3 separate regions of the Homo sapiens genome follow, and regions 2 and 3 are each linked to region 1. Evidence: promoter capture Hi-C in human tissues and cell types (Jung and others, 2019). All regions are on one chromosome and are shown on one strand. The core of a region is centred on a gene start or on the middle of the fragment in contact, and the rest is flanking DNA. Distances in the headings are between cores, read along the strand shown. Region 1 holds the start of MC4R (melanocortin 4 receptor). Region 2 has its middle 53 kb from the start of MC4R. Region 3 has its middle 59 kb from the start of MC4R.

The links. Contacts are between HindIII fragments. The study calls those that stand out against the background at their distance.
Region 2: a contact is called between a fragment that was not itself captured here and the fragment with the promoter of MC4R in region 1, in 5 of the 25 tissues and cell types used here (dorsolateral prefrontal cortex, hippocampus, mesenchymal stem cells and 2 more).
Region 3: a fragment that was not itself captured here is called in contact with the fragment with the promoter of MC4R in region 1 in 4 of the 25 tissues and cell types used here (heart left ventricle, mesendoderm cells, spleen and 1 more).

Annotation. Positions count from the first base shown.
Region 1 is chr18:60,370,153-60,374,823 of GRCh38, reverse strand. It overlaps MC4R (melanocortin 4 receptor), which reads left to right and starts at 2,049. Exons shown (of 1, transcript NM_005912.3): 1 at 2,049-3,762. The coding sequence starts at 2,475. The coding sequence ends at 3,473. The HindIII fragment of the contact is 8,670 bases long and covers 1-2,917 here.
Region 2 is chr18:60,423,873-60,428,543 of GRCh38, reverse strand. No RefSeq gene overlaps it. Among named protein-coding and RNA genes, the nearest start is that of MC4R, 53 kb to the right of the region's middle. The HindIII fragment of the contact is 6,143 bases long and covers 1-4,671 here.
Region 3 is chr18:60,311,504-60,316,174 of GRCh38, reverse strand. No RefSeq gene overlaps it. Among named protein-coding and RNA genes, the nearest start is that of MC4R, 59 kb to the left of the region's middle. The HindIII fragment of the contact is 6,802 bases long and covers 1-4,671 here.

The DNA.
Region 1 (4,671 bases), core at 800-3,299:
ACAGTGGCTCATGCCTGTAATCTCAGCACTTGGAGAAACCGAGATGGGAATATCGTTTGAGCCCAAGAGTTTGAGACCAGCCTGGACAACATAATGAGATTCAATCTCTACAAAATTATTTTTTAAAAGCTAGCTGGGTGTGGAGGTACATTTAGTTCCAGCTACTCAGGAGGCTGAAGTAGGAGGATCACTTGAACCTAGTGAGCCATGATCATGCCACTGCACTCCAGCCTGGGTGACAGAGCAAGATCCTGTTTTAATTTTTTAAAAATCAAATTCTGATTCACATTATAGTGTAAGCAAACCTTGAAAATATTATGCTACATGAAAACAGTGAGCCACAAAAGGCCACATATTGCATTATTTCAATCATATAAAATGTCTAAAATAGGCACATTGATAGAGACAGAAAGTAGATTAGCAGTTCCTAGAGGATAAGGAAAGGGTAAAATGGGGAGCAACTGCTAATGGGATAATGAAAATGTTTTAGAAATAGAAAGTGATGATTATGGCACAACTCTGTGAATATATTCCCCCAAAAATCCATTTAATTACTAAAGAGGTGATTTTTTTTGGTATGTGAATTATATGTCAATTTTTAAAAAGAGAAAAAATAAGGCAAGAGGAAGGTAAGATTATTTCCAGCTCATGATGTTCAGGAAAGCCCATTCCAGCATTTTACAATATACAGATGATTAGGCATTCAGAAATACAGGGGAAGGGAGTTGGAGGTGTGAGTTCTGCTCTGTGCAATCATTCAAGAGACAGGCTCCTTTCATGATATGGTCCTGCCACCTGTAACATGAGATTTCAAAGACAGGAGAGAAAACTTGTGTAAAATTATGAAAGAGCTAATGCGATGAGCCCCACTGTCAACATGCCATTAGCTAGAATTTAGTCATAAGGTCCTACCCAATTCCAAAGGTGGATGGAAGACGTTAATTTATCTCAATGCTCAGGAACAATACTTAGTATTGTCTCTGTCACAAAAGGAAAGAGGATACATTCCCAACCTAAGTAACTGAGATTCAGAATTAACCCTGAAATAAGCAGCTACAAACTATAGAGCACTAAAACCAAAAATAATCATAGAAGAAAAGAATATACAAAATTTTGTATAATCTGTTGTTCAGTTAATTTGGAAAGTAACTTTGCTGCCATCTTTCAAACCACCTTAAGCAAAATATTCAGAAACTTCAATAACTAACTAGTATCACCAGTCTTGGCTTGATAAGTAAAGTTACTAGGTATTTGTCGGTTCAACTTACGATACGTTAAACTCTGGAGGTTTAAAAAAAAGTTGCTTAAAAAAAAAAAACAGAATGCAGCTTATTATTTTCCTGAGTTCAGTGTAAGCATAGTTACATTAATGCCGTATGAGTTTAAAATATTGTAAATAAAAAGCACCTTTTTTCAGCTATAACACAAACTCCTCAATAGAGAAATATGGGATATTAGTGCATTAAAATCAACCCCTTTTGAACCCATTCATAATTTATAGCTACCTACATAGTTCTTCCAGCCATACCATGTCTATCTGTATCATTAAATATCCTCTCTGTTTTTCAGGTATTTTAACTGAACCACTACTGGCTGGGTTCTTAATAAAAACAAAAAATTAAGAAGGTAAATAAATTCAGTATCCTAGCCAAAAAGCAGAGTATCTGTTTCAGGAACATAAGACAGTATACTTTCCATTTCATTTTACACACACACATGATGTCTTTTACATAAGAATGAACCTGGCTGCCTGAAGATAGCTTGTTTTGATATCACAGAATGGCCTCTAGGGATCAAGTTGTTTCCCTTGAAAACTTAAAAAGGGAAATTCAGTCTCTTATCCGGCTTGCTTCTCGACTTCAGACTTCAGGAGCTTCTGCATCTGAATCTGTGTCACCCTGCAATTTGTGTCTCTGAAACATAATCCTGTCTCACAGACTCCCATTGCATTGGGATTGGTCAGAAGGAAGCAGAGGAGGAGCCACCGTGAACATGTTTTTTTTCTCTCCACACATCATAAAAATCAGCAGCTGGCGCCTACAGCCCCTAACACTCAAAGCAACGCTCAGGCTGGAAACAGAAGCTTCCGAGAGGCAGCCGATGTGAGCATGTGCGCACAGATTCGTCTCCCAATGGCATGGCAGCTTCAAGGAAAATTATTTTGAACAGACTTGAATGCATAAGATTAAAGTTAAAGCAGAAGTGAGAACAAGAAAGCAAAGAGCAGACTCTTTCAACTGAGAATGAATATTTTGAAGCCCAAGATTTTAAAGTGATGATGATTAGAGTCGTACCTAAAAGAGACTAAAAACTCCATGTCAAGCTCTGGACTTGTGACATTTACTCACAGCAGGCATGGCAATTTTAGCCTCACAACTTTCAGACAGATAAAGACTTGGAGGAAATAACTGAGACGACTCCCTGACCCAGGAGGTTAAATCAATTCAGGGGGACACTGGAATTCTCCTGCCAGCATGGTGAACTCCACCCACCGTGGGATGCACACTTCTCTGCACCTCTGGAACCGCAGCAGTTACAGACTGCACAGCAATGCCAGTGAGTCCCTTGGAAAAGGCTACTCTGATGGAGGGTGCTACGAGCAACTTTTTGTCTCTCCTGAGGTGTTTGTGACTCTGGGTGTCATCAGCTTGTTGGAGAATATCTTAGTGATTGTGGCAATAGCCAAGAACAAGAATCTGCATTCACCCATGTACTTTTTCATCTGCAGCTTGGCTGTGGCTGATATGCTGGTGAGCGTTTCAAATGGATCAGAAACCATTGTCATCACCCTATTAAACAGTACAGATACGGATGCACAGAGTTTCACAGTGAATATTGATAATGTCATTGACTCGGTGATCTGTAGCTCCTTGCTTGCATCCATTTGCAGCCTGCTTTCAATTGCAGTGGACAGGTACTTTACTATCTTCTATGCTCTCCAGTACCATAACATTATGACAGTTAAGCGGGTTGGGATCATCATAAGTTGTATCTGGGCAGCTTGCACGGTTTCAGGCATTTTGTTCATCATTTACTCAGATAGTAGTGCTGTCATCATCTGCCTCATCACCATGTTCTTCACCATGCTGGCTCTCATGGCTTCTCTCTATGTCCACATGTTCCTGATGGCCAGGCTTCACATTAAGAGGATTGCTGTCCTCCCCGGCACTGGTGCCATCCGCCAAGGTGCCAATATGAAGGGAGCGATTACCTTGACCATCCTGATTGGCGTCTTTGTTGTCTGCTGGGCCCCATTCTTCCTCCACTTAATATTCTACATCTCTTGTCCTCAGAATCCATATTGTGTGTGCTTCATGTCTCACTTTAACTTGTATCTCATACTGATCATGTGTAATTCAATCATCGATCCTCTGATTTATGCACTCCGGAGTCAAGAACTGAGGAAAACCTTCAAAGAGATCATCTGTTGCTATCCCCTGGGAGGCCTTTGTGACTTGTCTAGCAGATATTAAATGGGGACAGAGCACGCAATATAGGAACATGCATAAGAGACTTTTTCACTCTTACCCTACCTGAATATTGTACTTCTGCAACAGCTTTCTCTTCCGTGTAGGGTACTGGTTGAGAATATCCATTGTGTAAATTTAAGCCTATGATTTTTAATGAGAAAAAATGCCCAGTCTCTGTATTATTTCCAATGTCATGCTACTTTTTTGGCCATAAAATATGAATCTATGTTATAGGTTGTAGGCACTGTGGATTTACAAAAAGAAAAGTCCTTATTAAAAGCTTAACAATGTCTCCTTCGTGTTATTCATAAGCATTGGACACTTTGCGTGCTTTCGTAACATAGAAATCAGAGCCTCATTAAACATATTCTAATAAATGCTTTATTATATTATATTATCCACCATTGAAATGTAGAGAGTTCATTCTAGCAGTTAAGGGAAAATATTTAAAGAATAGATGTATAATCATTTTTAAAAATATCATCACTGAAATTTCAAGTAATTTAATTAAAGGTTTGTTCATCCTCCCTGTGCAGAAGTAGAAATGAAGCTCCTCTAGAGAGAAAAACAGGTGCTGAAAAAAGAGAGATGCTGAGTTAGAAAACTATGTGTACTTCTCAGACACAGAAAGATTCATCTCCCTTAGCAAACAGCCTGATATTTCACACAGGCAATTCGGTTTGGGGTGGGTGGGAAAAGGCAGCTATAGGGATGAAAGTGTCCTGGAAAACCTAAGTTGCCATGTCAAGCTAAATTTCCTGTTACCAAATTATCCCTAAACAATATTAATAAAACAGAGAATGGGGATTTATGCCCCCTTTAAACAAGGATTCAGGGTCTGCTGAAGTGTCCAGAAAAGGTAATATTGTACTGAGAGATTTAGCTTCCTGTTTCTAGAGAAGTACAGGACTGACATCGAATTCTTTCTCATTTCACATGAAAATGACTTGCTGTTTACTTATTGCTGATTTTTTGAACTGGAGTACAAATGTTGATTATCAAGGATTTTAAACTTCAAAACCAAATTCATAGCAGAAGTGTTTTCTGGCAATATTTGTAAATAACTAAAATAAAGGTATCTGTGATGCTGGTACATTTTAAGCAGGAAGGGAGGCACCTACCAAACCCCAGAGGATGTCATGCAATAAACTAGCCTTCCACAGCCACTTCTTGAAGAGTAAAATGTTTTGCTCCAAAATAA
Region 2 (4,671 bases), core at 649-3,148, 54 kb before region 1:
GAACTGCCATACTGTTTTCCACAGGGGTTGCACCATTTTACATTTTCACTAACAGTGCACAAAAGTTCCAATTTTTCCTTCTTATGGAGACTTGGTTTTTCTATTTTTATAGTAGTCACTCTAATAAGTGGTATCTCACTGTGGTGAAAGTTAGTATTTTTAGTCAGTCATTTAATCTATGAAATAATCTATCTGGCTTTAATGGGTTTAATCATCTTTCTAATATCTTCTTTGGTGATCAGCCTATTTTAAAATGTCTGTATATGCCAATTTAGATAAGTTATATTTTGACAGAAAACATTTTCTCTAATATTTTGATTATATTGTCACAGAGTTGCACAAAGTCTTCTTTTATGATTCTCCAGATCTCTTCTTCTTTGCCATTATATATCCTTAAGCACTCACTGTCTTGTACTTTTACATCTTTTTTACAATCTGACTCACAAAGTATTTGCATCTGTATTTTTACATACACACCTTTTGGATAAGCCTTTCAACTATTTTTATTTTCAAGTTCATTAATTTCAGTTTTATTTTATTATTTTCATCCTTTTAAAAAGTCTTATTTGCTCTTCTTTGCTCCCAAGTTTGTGTTATATATACCTGTTTTGGTTTTATTTATCTCTTTTTTAAAAAAATATGATGACATTTAAACTATAAATGTTCTACTGAGTTTTTCCAGGGCTGGCCTATGGTATAATGTGTTCTTTATTTCATTGCTTTCTAGATGGTTTATGATTTCCAATTTTAAAACTTCCTTTCCAAGAGACTATGATTCTCAATATCTAAGTAGTTTCAATGTTTGCGATCATTTTTTAATTATTTAATTGTATTGGATCATGATTAGATTATGTGATCTGTAATTTCTCTATTATTTTCACTTGTTAAGTTTTATTTTGGCACCAATTCTACAAATGTTTTTTGAACCTTAAGAGTATTTTCCATTTAAACTTATAGGTACCTATTTAAAATCATGATTATTGACTGTAGTACTTGATTTCTCCACCTCACTCCTTAATTTTGTCTGCAAGGCCTTTCTACTTGTGAGATAGCTACATCAATTGGTGTCATTATAACAAAACTTTCATAGATTTATCTGTTTTTAGATTTATTTGGTTCCACTGTTTTTTGTTTGGAGTACGCAGACATGTGCAGCTATATCTTCTTCCTAAACTTGCCTTTTTATCAATTGATTTTCAATGTTTTTAACATTAAGTTTCTTCTAATCAGTCTGATACTGATGTTTCCTCTTTTGCTTTAGTTTGTTTGTATTTATCTGGTATCCCTTTATTCACCCCTTTATGGTCAGCCTTTCCCTATCGCTGTGTTTTAAATGAATATCTCATAAAGTGAACAAAGTTGGATTTTCTTTTTGTAACGTACTGTTACAGTCCCTAATTTTCAAAAGGAAAATCTTATCTGTTTACATTTAGCTTAATTACTAAAACAAATTCTTTTAGTCTCTCCATCTTTTATTATTTAATATTTGTTTTACAGTGATTTTTAAGTTATTTTTTGCTGTTAAGAAAAAGGAACTATTCGTTGCATTTTCCCCTGGTTAATCCAGAAGTTTCACTCTAATTTTCCATTCTCAATATGGGTGGTTTCTTGTTCCCTGATCTCCTGCATTATAGAAACATGTTATTCAATATTTCCCTTATGAGAATATATATTCCTCTAATTAAAAGAGTCTATTTGTCTTTACTTCCTTGATACAAGTAATAGGAAATCTTTACAGTACTTACAATTATCTCTTTATCTCTTCCCTTTTTACTACTAGATGAAATCCTGGGAAGATTTTTACTCCCATTTTTATACGTATTTCCAAATCTTAGAAACTTGACTAGTTAAGTAGTTTCAGATTTTGTTTATTAAATTCTCCACGCAAAATCTCCCTCTATTTTACATCCCTATTTAGCAGTTATTTTAGACATTTCCAAATAGTCATCTTTAAGCATTGACCTAAAGATAGTACATCAAGGTTCACTCTGCAGTTCACCTGCTAGAATTGATTTAGTGTTTTATTTAGAAATTTCTGTTTATTCTTCTACCTCATAGCATACACATTAATGATAAATTTTCTAGGTATTATTGCATATTCTGACCAGTTAATGGTAACATTGGTTTTGACAGTCTTTTTCGTAGTCCGTTGTCTTCTAGCTACCTACAATGCAGATAAAAAGTCCCATGATAATTTATTCATTTTCCTTCGTAAGTAAATTTCTACTCCCACTGGCCATTAAGATAGAACTAAGCTACTTGTTCCCTACTTAAACACCTAGTGAAGCTTGTTTTCATATTATATCAGAGACAGAGAAAATTCAACCCACATTTTCAGTACCCCCTTAGCCACTTGAAAACAAGATAAACAAGGTAGACACTCACAGAGCCGAAGTTAACATTCTCCTCCAGCCCTCCAGAGTGTTCACAGATTTTTAGAGAGATAAGCTCATCACAAAGATGTGCATATTCCCAGATTTTGTTCCATAGTTTCTGATGCTAATCACCAAACACTTGCCTGACTTATGGAGGCAAAAGCCCCATGGTCTTTATCTCCTCGGGTACCCTACAGATCCCAACGCTTCACTTTTATCTAGCTGCCAACAGGACCGAGAAGTTATTTAACCTCATTCCTCAGTCCCAATGGGCTAAATTATGCTGTGTTAAAAATCATCTTCAAAATATCAGGGGCTTAAATGCATCTATCTTTCTCAGAATACATCTCTATAGCAGGTTGGCTGGGAGTTCTGATTTCCCTCACTCTGGAACTTAAGATGAGTGTGAACCATGTCTTGATTTTTGAGCTACACAGAGCCTCACACAAGCAATGAAATGTTCTGATCTGGAATTTGCATGGAGCTCTTCTGTTCATGACTCTGCCAGAACTAGTCACAGGATTTAACCCAAACACAAAAGGGCAGGAATCATGGGCCAGTATTCAGAGAGACAGAGATTTTTAGTTAACAAAACTAGAGACATTTTTCAGCTCAAGAGACATACATAACTTAGGAGTAGAGAGGAAAGTAGTCTCCTTCTGTCCTCCATATTTCCAGAATTTCTCTCTTAGGATATTAGCTCTTGGTCCTGGAAAGAGGGCCATTGGAAGTTTTATCAAGGCATGAGGGAGGGAATTCTAGAGCATGTATTCTAGACTGATGGCACATAGATGAGATGGAAGCAAGTAGCCTACTAAAAATAGGAAGGAAACTTAAAAGCTTAGCCTAACCCTAGGTGCACATTGCAGTCACCTGAAGTCTTTTCTATTTCTTTTTTTCTTTTTATTTATTTTTTGAGACAGGGTCTCACTTTGTCCCCCAGGCTGGAATGTAGTGGCGTGATCTCAGGTCACTGCAGCCTCGACCTCCCGGGTTCAAGTGATCCTCCTGCCTCAGCTCCCCAAGTAGCTGTTACTATACAGGTGTATGCCATCTCGCCTAGCTAATTTTTGTATTTTTAGTAGAGATGGGGTTTTGCCCTGGCCAACCTTGATCTCCTGAGCTCATGCAATCTAACAGCCTCGGCCTTCCAAAGTACTCTAAGATTATAGGCGTGAGCTGTTGCACATGGCCCCAGTTGAAAGCTTTTGAAGAAAATACCTATGCCTGGACCCCATCTACCATTATTTAATTTATTTGGTATAGGATGAGGGTCAGGCATAGTTGCCTAAAACCAAGGAAAGTATTTTAGGCAATTTTACCATAGAGAACATCTGAGCATCTTATTTTAGTAATCAATAGAGAATTATATGAGCATGCTACATAATTGAAACAACAAATCCTGTAAGAGGCAATATGATCTCAGAAGAGTAGGATACATTCATCAATGTCTTTGTCAAGATGAATTTTATTATGTATATTTAAGATATACGATGGTATATTTAGTGTATACATATATACATATACTATACTATATATACTATATGTAAATGTAGTAAGTATATATTAAATATACCTAATATTATATACTATGTATAATATACTTAGTATGATGTACTACATATACTTAGTATAGACTAAGTATATTAATATACTAAATATATACTAAATACTAAGTATTTAGTATGTTTATATAAAATACAGTATATAGTGTGTGTGTATATATATATATATATACACACACACTATACACACACACTAAATATACCACTGTATATCTTAAATATACATATATATACATGGTTACAATAGTGTAATAAATCAACAAGAACAAGTAGAAAGATCAAATGTAAGTAACCACTGTCTTAAAATATATGAGATACCCTAATCACTCTTACTGGAAAATAAGACCATAATTCCCTACCCTCAGATAATCTCCTATAGGTTATGAATAAAATAAAATATATATCAAGCTTCAAGTACAGAATTGCTCTTATCCTCCTAAAATTTTTCAACCAAGTTATTTGATTAGGAACTGATTTGCCAGTGTTTTTCTAACTTATCAAATAAAATATCATGATGTTTATTTTTTTCTTGATAAACTTAACTAAGGACATGTAATACCTTTAATTCAAGTGAAGATTTGATCATCAATTTTAAAGCATAAAGATTTAATGAAATTATTAATATGAACTGTGCTTCTAAAACACACTGCATTTTATTCCATTTCTATGTGATGCTTGTCCCAAAATATGTGACATAAGACCCAAACAGGTCCTAGACTTTAGCTTGTACC
Region 3 (4,671 bases), core at 1,422-3,921, 59 kb after region 1:
GGACCCTCTTCTCCTATGAGGACAATTTCTTGACAATTACTGGTCTAGTAAATCTGCTAAATCTACAAGAGCAAATGGACTACAATTCCTTCATCCACTCTTGCTTACATAGAACTCTCCTCAACTCTTTTTATAATATTTCTGCTGCAAGTAATTTAAGGTTATATTTTCTGAACAGCTTCTCACATTCAGGTATTTTGTGTAAGGGGTAGTTTGTTTGTTCAAATGTGTTTATTATCAGATTGGTATTTACCCAACCAAACAAGGCTGGGATAGGAACAAGATGTTTAACTGAAGCAAAAATGTGATTCTGTACATGTCCAACCTATATATTTGTAGGACCACCCATGGTTTAGAAAGTTCCTATACCTGCAATTTTCCTGTACCAAATGTAATACAGGCTTCCCTCCTCAGAAAGCAAGAAGGAATCCTCAAACCATCATTTCACTTCCTCCATTAACAACAATAACCGTGATCATCAAAAGGGATAATGGTTGAACACCTCTTATGTATTAACCTCTAAAATGAGTGCTGTCTATGAAACATCACATTCAACTTTCTCAGCCACCCTGTGGGATGCTGGTGGTATCCTTTGTTGCATACATAAAAAATGTGAGGCTTTGACAAGTTGAATGGCATGGCCAGGCCATTCAGAATTGACCTATATCTGAACCCAGGTCCATCTTCAGATCTCTTTCTTTTAATAATGCAGTTATAACATCTCTTATATCCTATAAATATAAGAATATTTGAAAAACTTTACAAAAAGGAAAAAAATTACCCATTTATTGCAGATATAATATACTATTCTTCAAATATATGCTATGATGGATCTATTTTACCACTTACATGTTTTTGACACTCCCATATTTTTTGTTTCATCTTTCCCAATCTACAGAATACTACTAGACTGAGAGAAAATTCTGAAAGCAGAGCCAAGTATTTGGGTATATGTGTGTGTGTGTGTGTGTGTAGTACAGCAAAAAAAATATCTATTTTTCTGTCATTTGAAATTAATATACAGACACAGCTTGGAGAGATAAACTTACCTTGATTTACAGCTATTTTAAATTTCTTGTAAGTTGCTTGAAAAATTATAAATTGCCAGCACGACTTTATTATTCATTTTATTTTCACATCAGCCCAGTTAATTAAAAATTCTTTAAGTGTCAAACTGAGGTGCTCAGTTAGCATGTGAAACAGCCCTAGACTTTTATATTTTTACTTTTCTTTAGAACTATCAATAATTTGTCATGTCTTAAATATAAAAAAGTAAAAATTAACTGATTAAAGTTAATTAAGGTAAAATTAACTTTTCACTTTTCTCAAATATTTATTGGAAAGAGATAAATTGTTAATCCTTTGTCTGATTCTTGGAAATAGATAAATCTTGGAAATATACAGGCATGAGTCCGATTCCATGGAATGAAAGGGATGTATAAGAGAGCTAGAAGTTTAAACAAAAATAGAAAAAGAAAGGAAAGAAGGAAGGGAGAAAGGGAGAGAGGGAAGGAGAATTTAAACCTTTGAGTAGGAAAAGAAACAATTGAACAGTTATATTACATTAAAAACTATGTTACAAAATAACTAATTAGCCTTTGTATTTTCCGTAAGGAGACCAATATTCCAAACTGGAAAGGAAGGCACAAACCATTAGCAGAAAAGTGTACTTTAAAAGAAATATAAAGTAGATATCAATTAGAAGACTTTATGATCACTAATAGAGGATGAATATTATTCCTAATAGAAATGTAAACTGGAACCATCTTTATAGAAGCAATTTGAAAATATGCACATTCTTAAAAGTATTCTTATTACTGCATTGCTTCTATGATGAAAGATCAAAAGAGCCCAAATGCTTAAATAATAGAATGTGGATTATATAACAGAACACACATCATAGCATATTATGAATTATTGATTTTAAAATATTTAAGAATGCATATTTAATATTTACAGCTACATCAAACTAAAATGCTTTCATACAACAAAGGAAACAAACAACAAAATGAAAAAGAAGCTTACACATTAGGAGAAAATATTGGCAAACCACATATCTGATAAGGGGTTAATATCCAAATTATATAACAAACAATAGCAAACAAAGTAAACAAAAAAATCCACAAGTAACCCAGTTTAAAAATTGGCATCTGAATAAACATTTTTCCAAAGAAGACACATAAATTGCCAATAGGTATATTAAAGGGTGCTCAACATCACTAATCATGAGGGAAATGTAATCAAAACAACAATGAAATATCATCTCTCACCTTTTAGGATGGCTTTTATCAAGAGGCCAAGAAATAACAAGTGTTTGTATGAATAGAGAGATAGGAAACACATGTACACTCTTGGTGGGAATGTAGATTGGTGTGACCACTGTGGAAAACAGTGTGGGTGTCCCCAAAGAAATTAAAAATAGAATTACCATATGATCCAGTGCTCCCATGTTCATTGCAGCATTTCTCACAATAGCCAACATACAAAAACAACTGATGAGTTTGTTGACAGATGAATGAAGAAACTATAATGGAATATTATTCAGCCTTTTAAAATTATATGTCTAAATAACAAGTTCTTTCAAAAAGAGTTATTAAAAATCTAAGATTTTTTTAAAGCATTGTAATACAGTGGCATTCTTAACAGCACAAGAAAAATTATATTTAATAATTGATGGTTCTAGACTCAATAGAATAGCAGAATCTCATTTTTTCTTTAAAAATAAATTGTGTAGGTATATTTTTATAAAAGTATGACAAATACAAACACAAAACAAGGTTAAAAATTATCATCTTTTTTTGATATATTTCTACATTTTTCTATGAAAAGGATGTACAGTTGACCTTTGAACAACAAGGGGGTTAGGAAGTACCTACCCTCTTGCAGTTCAAAATCTGTGTATAACTTTTAACTCCCCCAAAACTAAACTATTAATAGTCTACTGATGACTGGAAGCCTTACCGATAATATCAGTAGCCAGTTAACACATATTTTGTAGGTTATACATATTATATACTGTATTCTTACAATAAAGCAAGCTAGAAAAAGAAAATGTTACTAATAAAATCAAACAGGTGAGAAAATGTATTTACTATTCATTAAGTGGAAGTGGATCATCATGAAGGTTTCTATCCTCATTGCCTTCACATTGAGTAGGATGAGTGGGAGGGGAAAGAGGGGGACTTGGTCTTGCTATCTCTGCAGTAGAAGAGGTAGAGGAGGTGAAAAGGAGGCAGGAGAAGCAGGAACACTTGGTGTAACTCTTTTCTTTTTTTTAAATGTGTGTGTAAGTGAACCTGAGCAGTTCAAACCCACATTATTCAAGGGCCAATTTGTATGTTTTTTAATCAAACTAAAAGATAATGTTTTTTCATAAGGTAGAAACTAGACATTATTTCAAGTAATACTAATTACTTCATGTCTTCATAGCCAAACAAATTACTTTCTAGGTGTAAAAAAAATAGTGCTGTGATCCCCAATCTATTTTCAAGATAAGAAAACCTATTTTGACATAGGTTTTGGAAAAGGTTTGAAATGGAAGACAAGTACAAAGACTACAGAACGAGATAACACTAGAGGTAGGGCTAAATTGGCCAGGAGAGTACAAGAGTCATCTTCAGGAACCTTTGAGGAAATAGGAATATATGGAATTAAAATGCTGTTTGAAATATTATTTATAATAATTTTTTCACTTTTTTCTTCTTTCTCTTCTTTCACTTCTCTTTCTCTTTTCTACCTTCACATAAACATAAAAGTAATATGTAAAATGTCAATATGCATGTCAACTTTCACATATAAATCTTTTCACTATTTTAATTGCTAAGGTATAATATTTCACCTATATTTTGCATTAAATTAGGCTTGTTGCCTTGCAAACTAAACTTTTTTAAAAAATGCATTTCACATGCCAAATAGTCCCCTAATGAGCTCTTAGATAGCATTCAATTTATAAAATTGTTTTCTAAAGAAAGATAATCCTGCTCACTGTTAACTTGCCAAAAGTTCCCTTGTTGAGCAACAAAAAGACTCAGAGCATTTTCACCAACTACTTCCTCTAAGCAAATATCTTTCATGCTATTCCAATGTTAGCTTAATAGAAGCTGTGTTGTTAATATAAACTATCATGACTGATATATACTTTAAATAAGTGAACCATCAAAATATTGCTGATAACTTGTACTAGGTCTTGTGTTAATTTTATAAGTAAGTATGATGTGTTTTATAGAGTTTTAATTCAATCTACTTTTAAGTATTTCACTGTGTGAGATTTCTGAAGATTACTTATATAAGGGCAGATAATGAACTATGGAGTAAACAGTTGAAAACATCACATAAATTCTTTTGTAGTCATGGTGATGAAGTCACCTTTGACCTGATTTTCAACACTAATGTCAGAAAAATAAAGAAAAGAAATAGTGTTTCATTGAACAATAGTAGCCTTTAAAAAAGTGTTTTCGAATGTCTTCTGGTTTATACCTCAAGTGAAACTGAAAAGATTTTGAGAGTCCCCCAAAAAATTCTTACAGTGGTGAAATATATACTTGTCAGTCTCCTTATACACAATAACTTCTTAGCTAAAATAGTAATTTTTCATCAGGATTTATAGTGGAGAACATTCTTAAACAAGAGATTTCCCTTGTTTTTGCCAAGAACATGTGCCAGTTCATCCAA